Linked DNA regions of Homo sapiens: region 2 is linked to region 1. Evidence: promoter capture Hi-C in 16 types of primary human blood cells and fetal thymus (Javierre and others, 2016). All regions are on one chromosome and are shown on one strand. Each heading gives the region's core, a stretch centred on a gene start or on the middle of the fragment in contact. The rest is flanking DNA. Distances are from core to core; before and after follow the strand shown.

What was found. The method cuts DNA at HindIII sites, captures the fragments that hold promoters and counts their contacts. A CHiCAGO score of 5 or more calls a contact.
Region 2: a contact is called between a fragment that was not itself captured here and the fragment with the promoter of NENF in region 1, in 7 of 17 cell types (non-activated CD4 T cells, naive CD4 T cells, fetal thymus and 4 more). The highest score is 9.3, in non-activated CD4 T cells.

Annotation. Positions count from the first base shown.
Region 1 is chr1:212,430,456-212,435,373 of GRCh38, forward strand. NENF (neudesin neurotrophic factor) reads left to right here and starts at 2,465. Exons shown (of 4, transcript NM_013349.5): 1 at 2,465-2,665. The coding sequence starts at 2,489. It overlaps LOC105372906 (a long non-coding RNA gene), which reads right to left and starts at 2,362. Exons shown (of 3, transcript XR_922577.4): 1 at 2,170-2,362; 2 at 1,286-1,389. RefSeq lists a cis regulatory region at 540-827, a silencer at 2,251-2,810 and an enhancer at 2,971-3,060. The HindIII fragment of the contact is 20,197 bases long and covers 1,898-4,918 here.
Region 2 is chr1:212,027,863-212,033,333 of GRCh38, forward strand. The region is part of intron 1 of INTS7 (integrator complex subunit 7); the gene reads right to left. Among named protein-coding and RNA genes, the nearest start is that of INTS7, 5.0 kb to the right of the region's middle. RefSeq lists an enhancer at 2,939-2,988. The HindIII fragment of the contact is 5,049 bases long and covers 1,371-5,471 here.

The DNA.
Region 1 (4,918 bases), core at 1,215-3,714:
ACACAGCTGCAGTTTTCAATAATACACGCCATGCCCTTACCCTCTTGACTGAAGAAACATCTCAAATTAGACAGATAGCCTTATGAAACTATGGCTCTGGACATGTTAACAGCAGCTCAAAGGGGGAACTTATGCTATAATCAAAACAGAATGTTATGCATACATTCCAGACTATTCACATAATGTTACTCAGGCCACAAAAGACTTAGACACCCACATCTCTGCCATTGACACGCTGTCAGTTGACCCCATATCAGCTTGGTTCTAACAACTGCCTAGTCCTTGGGAAACTTTTTTTGTTTAGCATGCTTGGGATAATTCTATTCATTCTGTTTTGTGCTGTGGAATATACTGCATTGTACTTTTTATGTAGGAATAAGAGTTAAGCTTATTCAATGCTTCTTTAAATTTAACACGTTAATTTTCTAGATTTCACCTTTTTCTGGGACTTAGAATTATGTATGATTGGTCCTCACTATACAGATGCTTTCTGACTGGCTAGCTCTCTACTTTGGGCAAAGGGATCCTAATGGTTAGGCAGGAATATCATCGCTTCTGTTCAGCTTGAAGTTACTGAAGATGGATCTCTGTCCCCCTGCACCCCTTAGGATTAAAGGTCTCCTTGTAAAAAGGAGGAGGGAATTATGTCAGAAGTGTCCTAACCAGAGTGATTCCATCTTGAATAAAGGTCAGATAAAGCCAAACCTGCTGGGCGACTTTCCCAGGAAGATAGGCACTCTTCACAAGATGTTTATGGTTGAGGAAATGAGATAATGGAAAAAGGCATTCTTAGTTTAAAAATGAGTTTCACTTTAAAGATAACAGTACACCCATAAATTCTCCCTGAAGTCAATAGTTACACAAGAGAATAACAATACTAATAGTCTGTAACAAGCTGATCATAGGCTTTTGTAATGAAGTACGCTAGTTTTAGCCCTATAAAAGCAAGCATTACATTGAAGGCAGAGGTGCTCCTATATAAACAATACTTGCTTAGTACTACTTCAAAGCAAGGATACTACTCAGAAACACAGTAGTACTATTATTAGAAATGGAGTAGTTTCTAATGAACTATTTTAACTACTATGCTCTGCGACTTGCCCTGATTCTTTGCCGTGGACGTCTAAGAACCTGCTCTTGGGTCTGGAATGAGACCCTTTTTCTGTTAATTCCTCTATTCCAGTCTTGAAAGTAAAAGCCAGTCTTGAAAATAACCTGTGAAGCCCCCAAGATCCACCCCCACTCCCTTACCCGCTTCCTTCCTGACTTCACCTACCCCTCTTACCTTCCCTTGATCCTCCAGCAAGCCGGGCATCCTCATTCCTCCGCATTTATGCACCTGATCCTTTGACCAAAGTGCTCTTCCCTCTAGACCGCCTCCTTCGCCTCCTGTAGATTTTTATGCAAATACCCTGTTCTCAGTGAGGCCTTCCCTAACCTGCCTATTTAAAATGACCATCCCCATAACCGGGCACCGTTCCTCACACCTGTAATCCCAGCACTTTGGGTGGATGAGGTGGATGGTTCACTTGAGGCCAGGAGTTCGAGACCAGCCTGGCCAGCATATAGTGAAACCTCATCTCGACTAAAAATTAAAAAAAAAAAAAATTAGCCAGGCGTGGTGGTGGGTGCCTGTAATCCCAACTACTCTGGTGGCTGAGGCAGGAGAATCACTTGAACCCGGAAGGTGGAGGTTGCAGTGGGCCGAGATGGCGCCACTGCACTCCAGCGTAGGCGACAGACTCCGTCTCAAAAATAAATAAATACATAACAATAAAATAAAATAAAATGTCCATCCCAGTGCTCCCTATCTCTTTGCCCTACTTTTTCTCCCTAGTATTTACCACCATCTAACATACTACTTAGCATCTTATTGTCTATCTGCCCACACAATGTAAGCTTCACGTGGGCGTGGATCTGTCTTGTTCAGTGGTGAGTCCCCAGTGACCTGGTACATGGAGGTACTCAAAAATATTTGTTGCATAAAGTAATGAGCAAAGTTTGGCACAAATGTTAGCTATTATTATTTCAGGGCGTATCGGTAACAGCACCCTACCCTTTGCAAAAATCTCCTTGGGAACCAGAAACTTAAACACAACCAGGAAGAAAAAAAATCAGCCAAAAATAAAAGCGAATTAAGACAGTTGGGGTCTTATTTTAGAAATATACCTTTCTAGGTTCTGGTATGTTGGGCTCTGTCATCTTTCTACCTGATCAAGGAACCACTGTGACATTTTTTGGTAACTTCCAGTCTGTAGTTTGGATTTAGGAGTTCAGGATTCCAATCCTAATTTCCAGGTTCCAGCTGCGTGGCCCGAGTAGCCCGGCCAGCCCCACCCCGGGGCGCAGGAGGCGCGCGAAGGGCGGGAGTTCTCGGGTCCCCGCCCTCGGGGAGGCTCTGGGCGCGGGGCGGGACTCCGGGACGCTGGGCGGGCGTGCTAGGGCCCCGCCGCCCTGGCCCGGCCTTGCCTTGCGCTGCGCGCTCACCATGGTGGGCCCCGCGCCGCGGCGGCGGCTGCGGCCGCTGGCAGCGCTGGCCCTGGTCCTGGCGCTGGCCCCGGGGCTGCCCACAGCCCGGGCCGGGCAGACACCGCGCCCTGCCGAGCGGGGGCCCCCAGTGCGGCTTTTCACCGAGGAGGAGCTGGCCCGCTATGGCGGGGAGGAGGTAGGCGGGGGTGTCGCGGGCCGAGGGACCCGGGGTGGCGTCCGATCTGCGGCGAGCCGAGCGGGGACCCAGGAGGCGCCGGCGGCCCAGGAAGCTCTGGGGGACGCGCGGCCCGCGGCGGGCGCCCTGGGCCGGCGGGGGGCCTCCTCTCTCTAGGCCCCGAAGGATGGCCGAGGGGTGAGGACGAGTCCTCAACAGTCGGAGCGCTCCGCTTTGCCCGCACACCCCACCCTGAACTTCTCCCTCGGTCCCCGGGAGATTTCCCCTCTAGCCGCCTTTTCGTTGATGATCTGCGTACAGACCTCAGAACTTTTTGGTTTTCATGTTAGCATCAGCCGAGGCGTTTACTGTGCCCACGCATAGTGGGGAGTGGCGGGGGACGGAGGGAGGGAAGCAGAGCCTGCTCCCTGGGTTAGGTGGGAATTGAGACAGGTCCTGGGATAAGCCAGTCTTTGCCTGCACTTCCTTTTCCTGCCCCTGTATCCCAGGCCTCTGCATCGGACTCCTCAAACCCACTTTTAGGTCATGTACCCCTGGGGCTCAGCCAAAGCTGGAAGTGAGCGCAGAGGGTGGACTGGAGGTTAGAGACCCCCACAACCCCCCCGCCACACGTCAATAGAGACCCCCCCGCCCACACACACCCACACACGTCAATAGTCTAGAGGCGTCCAGAAAACTCACAACCACCTGCCCACCTGGGTTGGTTGGGACTGGAGCCGCACGACAAGGACCAACAGGGGGCTGATATTAGATGTGGAGCGGGGGAACGGCATTGGGGGGAGGTCATAGTACCATAGTATTTCAGAGCTGGCAGGAACCCATCTCCTGCTTTTACACATAAGGAAACTGAGGCCTGCCACCTGTTAGTGGTAGAGCAGGAAGAGGCCTGATGTTTTTCAAAACCCTCTGGCCTGGTCTCGCTAATTCCTGAGTTAATTGGCCTTATATGGACTAGGATTGCATGGGGGTATCAGAAACCTGGCCCTTAGTCAGTGATGCCAGTTTGGGCATCATTTGTGAAGGGGCCATTTAGAACCATGAGTCAGTGAGGACACCGAGGGAGGGAGACATGGCTGGGATGTGAGGATGTTAAGGGATGCCTTTTTGCCGGTAGCAGAGGGAACCAGATGGTTCAGAGTCCAGGCATCCGTGCAGAAAAGAATTAACATGGCAGGCCTGCTCTCCTTAGAAAAGCCTACTTGCAAGGGTGGGACTTGTCTAGTGTCTGGATTTCTCACCCTTCCCTACCCAATAACGGTGGACTCACTTGCCTAGGCCGTATATACAGATGGTGTGGTTAGTATTGAACACTGTATATGCTAGGCAGAGGGTGCCCCATGTGACCAGCCCCCAGTGAAAACCTTGGGTGCTGAGTCTAATGGGCATCTCTAGCAGAGGAATGTTCTGCCAGAAGAATGGCACATACTGTCAAGTTTTGTTGCTGGGGGAAGAGTGTGCTCTTCCTCATGGGAGGGAGAGAGCATAGGAAACCTGCACATAGATTCCCCTAGATTCTCCCTCTGTGTTTTTCCTTCCCAGCTGTGAGTAGAACTATATGCTGGGTTCTTGGAATCTTCCTTCTAGGGACTCTCCAACTGACCCGATGATCTTTGGGACCACTGGCACAAGAATCTAAGGAAAGAGAGAGTTCACCACTGAGGTTACAGCAAGAGTGCCAGAACTGCAAGATGAGGACTGAGAAAAGACCCTTGGTTTTTTGATGTTGATGTTATAGATTGAAATTTAACTGAGAGAGAGAGGACCTTGAGATGGAAACAGGGGTAGGAAACAATTGTTTTGGGAGTGGAGCCTGAGGATCTCTGTAGGTGGAAGGAAGGAGCCAGAGAGAGGAGGGGAGCGAGGGACGAGAGAGGCAGTTGAGTGCAGTGGGTTCAAGCTGTGCTGCGCTGTTGTTTGACCTAGATTGTTCTGGTCTATGCCTGTTATCCAGGGATAATTATTAATAACACCCTTTCACTCAGAAGTGTGACAATTTGTATAATACATTGGATCATACCTGGTTTTGAGTCCCTGTTCTGCTGTGTGATTTGGGGCAAATTACTAAACCTCTCTGAGTCTCCACTTTGTTCGTAAGATACTTGGATTAGTCCAGGTTTCACCAGGGAACAGAACCATTTGGATATCTATATCTATACAGTTGATCCTTGAGCAACACAGGAGTTCGGGGTACTGACCCCCATGCAGTCAAAAGTCTGCATATAACTTTTTTTTCTTTTAGAGGCAGGGTCTTGC
Region 2 (5,471 bases), core at 2,645-5,144, 400 kb before region 1:
GCCGCCCAGGCTGGAGTGCAGTGGCGCAATCTCAGCTCACTGCAACCTCCGCCCCCCGGGTTCAAGTGATTCTTGTGACTCAGCCTGCCGAGTAGCTGGGATTATAGGCGTGCACCATCACACCTGGCTAAGTTTTATATTTTTAGTAGAGACAGGATTTCACCATGTTGGCCAGGCCAATCTCAAACTCCCAACCTCAGGTGATCCTCCCGCCTCAGCCTCCCAAAGTACTAGGATTCCAGGCGTGAGCCACTGCGCCCAGCCAGCACCTAGATTCTCAAGTTAACTTCTGCCACTTGATAACTTATTTAACTAGCCTGCCCACACTGATTATACTGGAGTTAGAAAACTACTAGGCTGCTGAATTTGGTCCTCAGAATGCTTTTATCTGGCACAATGTTTTTAAAGGTTTCGAACACACTGTCAAGTTTTACAAATCATACTTCACATAAAACCCCAGGATCTCTGGTTTTAGAAAAGTAAAAGATCTAAAATCTTACTGAAGAAGGTAGAAGTGTCTGACCAAAGAAACATAGTAGTACTGCAGAAACATTACAGTACTGCAGGTCCATGTTGAAGGTCAGTGTAGATTCGGCTCCCATTTATGATGATAGCCATGTACCCCACTGTATGACTTTCTGCAGCAATTTTTGACTGCCTTTGGGGATACATGAGTAGAATGGAACCTTGGATGTGAATTTAAAGTACTGGTAAGAAAGTAAATGCAGTTAATAAAATGAAGGACCATGAAATCTAAGCTGAACAAAGAAGTAAAACAGGTACAGAAATGTAGAGAGGTGAAATACCGAGGTCTGAATGAAAATAAAGACTAGCCAAAATAGCAGTTAATCATAATGATAATGATGATACACATGAAGTGCTTATTCTGTGCCAGTCACTTTAAGCACTTTGCATGTATTAAAGTCTCACTAAAAATCACATAAATTAGGTACCATTATTTTCCCCATTTGAAAGGTGAGGAAACAGGCACAGACAAGCTAAGCAATTTGCGTAAGAAACAACAATGCTGACAAATGACAGAGCTGGGATTCAAATTCTGGCAATGTAGCTCCAAAGGCTATAGTGCTAACCACTATGCTAAAATGCATCTCTAGCAAGCAACTAGAAAGAAAGAGATTAAGATTCAAGAATGAGACATTTAAATTAGTGATTAAATGGTGGAATTCTGAGGTGATGAATTCTAGGGAATTAGGGGAATACCATAAATTATGGTAAACTTGGGGTTTGGGATACACATTAATCAAGTTTTCAAAACAGCACAAATCTCCAAGTAGCATCTATCAGCAGTTCTTAGCTGCAAGCAACAGAAGCTAACTCTGGCTTATGAGGCAGAAAATGAGTTTATTAAAAGCTTAAGAAACAATTTTAAGGCTAAATTTCTAGGAACACCTAATACCACACTACCCAACCAACTGGATGGAAGAACCCTGTCTTTGATAGGAAACACCAGATGCAACAATTAGCTCTGCTGTCATCTAGGAATATCGTAGCCATTGTTGTTGCTGCTGTAAGCTAGAAATACTGCTGCTGCCATGGCAGAACTGTGAGTGGACACTTCAACTCTTCCTTCTTGCATCTCTAACTTCTAAATCAGACAGTGTGAAGGAGGTGTGTCTGACTGGCAGAGCCTAAGTCAGATCCTGCACTCTTGCAAGGGAAACTAGGAAATAAGTTTTTGCTTCTACCTTAGTAAGACAAGGTTCATGATATGGGACATTCCTTAAGCATAAAAAGAGTGTTCAAAATATATTAAGCAACCATCAACATAACTAACATCCACTACAAAGAACACCACAAATAAAGCATTACCAAACAAACACAATTTAGGACAATTTGTGACATACATTTGCTTTAGCTAAGAGATGAGGATGATTCAAAATTGAACCATAACACGAACATATCTTAAAATCTATACATTAATAAAAGGTGTGTGGGGGGACATGGGTAGAAACATGAACACAAACATACAACCCACAGCTTAAAAAATTGATGGCAAAGCCCATTTTTATATTTAAAAAGCAGAAATAGAAACAAGTAAAATGACAGTGAAAACTAATGATGCATTAATAAGGCAGCATCCATCCCCCAAATTTCAGAAAATGTCTGTAAACGTACATGGCAAGATGTATGCAACATCATCCAGTATGCACATGAGAATACTAATCTAGAATTCTAAACAAATTTGAGTTTATGGATACCAACTTCTAGGAATATTTAATAACCCACTTTGCAAATTCCAAGACAGTAAATCTTAGTTATATATAAGAATGAGTCTGTGGGTTTCAGTAAAAACTTGAATTTTTGGATTAGTTCATAGCCCATCAAGGAATTACCAACCAGGCTGCTGGTTTTTATGTTGCATTAAGTTGCCCAGAGTCTCACCTTAGCTTCAATTCTACATGATTTTTTGTTTTTTTTTTTTGAGATGGAGTTTCATTCTTGTCGCCCAGGCTGGAGTGCAATGGCATGATCTCAGCTCACTGCAACCTCTGCCTCCTGGGTTCAAGTGACTCTCCTGTCTCAGCCTCCTGAGCAGCTGGGATTACAGGTGCCTGCTACCACCCCCGGCTAATTTTTGTATTTTTAGTACAGATGGGATTTCACCATCTTGGGCAGGCTGGTCTCGAACTCCTGACCTCAGGTGATCCGCCCGCCTCGGCCTCCCAAAGTGCTGGGATGACAGGTGTGAGTCACTGCGCCCGGCCTAATTCTATATGATTTTATAGGTCCGCTTCTCAACACTCTCAGACTAAGTGTGGTCTGGCAGCAGAGATTCTCAGGAGAAAGAATTTGACTCAGTGTGGGTCACATGCCTACTTCTGAATCAATCAGTTATGGTATGGAATTAGTCACCTGGAACAAATCTGGCTGCTGAGGCCTTTCTCTTGAGGAGGGCCTATGAAGATACTTCCCCAAAGGCCTCATATTTGTTTACTGAAACACCAACAACATCTGAGCCATATCGATAATGTAAAAGCAATCTGTGGTCTTTCTTGACAAACTTTCTTGATGGTCTGAGAATTCAGGTATTTTGGAATACAGGTGAGGTGACACCGTCTAAGGGGGAAATTAGAGTGCAGAGACAGTTGTCCTGATTCACATCATTTCTCTATTTCATAACTAAATTTTTCATTAAGCACACCATCAAGGTTTTTCACACAGCATTACATTCACCAGCACCTCTAGTAACAAATCTATCCTCTATATTTCCTCCCTTCCCATTGCATCAGCTGCAAGAAAGGGAATGAGTCACTGCTCTCTTCCCCATTGCTTTCATCTCATCCTTTCCAAGGTCAACATTGCAGAAGGCAGATAGGCTGAATAATATCATTTAAGAGACTCCTCTTTTCCCAGGGGGAAGGAGATCTTGCATAAGTTTTCCCAAATCATCAGGATAACCTTCCATCAGCTGATCTAAAAATGTTTAGACTAAGAAATTATATTAGTGAAAAAGTTACACTAATTTTTGTGAGATGCATCCTTTATATTGCCAATTATGTATAGTAATGATCATATCATGAAATGTGTCAGATAAACATAAGCTGTAATGTATTTGATTATGACACTTAACTCTGCTTGTGTATGCTCAGTCTTACAGAAGCTCAAGCAGCATGGCCATCAGCCTACAACTTTCAATGCCTTCCCATTGCACTCTGCACAAAATCCAACTTCTTGTCCTGACTAACGGCACCACATTTGATCTAGCATTGTCCATCTCCTTACATTTGTATGCAATCTCCTTAAAGATGTCTTGTTTGCCAACATAGCCCCTAGTCTGAGTATAGAGCCTGAGACAATGCAGGTGGTCAGTAAATATCTGTTGAGTAAATGAATGGCTATCACATGAAGGATGATTTTCCTGTTACTAACTACATCCTAAAGTAATGGAATTGAGTCAGCTTCAAAATAGTATTCACTTATTCCTATAGAGATCAGAAACAATCAGCTTACTGCCAATGCTTGCTCAAAAGGCTCAGAATAAAGTACAACAGTTATAAATATATAACAGGTTATGAATGGCAGCATTTCCTGAGTGTGTTTCTAAGGACACCAGTGCCACAAAATATTTCTTTAAAATAGCGTTCAAAGGTTACATCTTATGCCTAACTGACTAATCATCTCCATTTGGATGTCTAAGAGACATCTCAAATTTAACATGACCCAAACTGATTTGATTTCAGTAAACAATACATACATCCTCCCAGTAGCTCATACCAAAAACCTCTAAGTTTTCTTGACCACTTACTCTTATATCCTCATCTAATCCATTAGCAAATCTTCTTGGCTCTACTTTGAAAGTATATCCAGAATCTCAGCACTTCACACATTTTCAGTGTCACCATCTCGGTCTAAGCCACTATTTTCTTTTCCCTGGATTGTTATAGTTGCCTTCTCATTGGTCTCCCTACTTGGGTCCCTGACCCTCCCCACTTCAGTCTATTCTCAGCACAGTAGCCAGACTGATACTTTTCAAAGGAAAGTCAGATCATGTCACACACCTGCTGAAAATCCTCCATGGTTTCCTTTCTCACTCAGAATGAAAGCCAGTCCTTTTGATGGCTTGCACGGCCCTACCTGAACGGGACTCTGGTTATCTTTCTTTTTTTTTTTTCGAGACAGTCTTGCTCTGTTGCCCAGACTGGAGTGCAGTGGTGTGATCTCGGCTCACTGGAAGCCCCGCCTCCCAGGTTCACGCCATTCTCCTGCCTCAGCCTCCCAAGTAGCTGGAACTACAGGTGCCCACCACCACGCCTGGCTAATTTTTTGTATTTTGTTTAGTAGAGACAGGGTTTCACCATGTTAGCCAGGATGGTCTCGATCTCCTGACTTCGTGATCCGCCCGCCTCAGCTTCCCAAAGTGCGGGGATTACAGGCGTGAACCACCACGCCCGACTGACTCTGGTTATCTTTCTATACTCATTGCCTATTACTTTGCTCCAGATAACTGCATGCAAAGGAGGCTTCTACCTCAGGGCCTTTGTACTTGCTGTTCTTCCACTTGATTGAGGAGGTCTTTCTTGCCTATACTTCATAAAATAAGAAATCAACTCCAGCCCCAGATCAGTTTTCTCCAGTCCCTTTCATTGCTTCATTTTCCTTTATAATATGTATCACTAACTGTCACGTTTGCTATATTTGCGGAGTGTCTGCATCTGCTGTCTAGAATGTAAGCTCTATAGGGGCAGGAGTTTTGTCTCATTAACTGCCATGTTCCTAGTACAAAGCCCGATCAAATAAGTCATGTGTCTGAGTGTGTATGCTGAGGTGGGGGAGATATTTCAGAAACAGTATTCCTTGGAGTTTGGGAACGAAAAAAAGAGTTGGAACTTGTAGCCTTCTGACCTTTAGCTCACAAAACAGAAATACTTTAACAGGTACAAGATGAAATGACTCAATATTTAAAATACTCAACTATATTCTACACGAAACTGGCTATTTCTATAACTTAA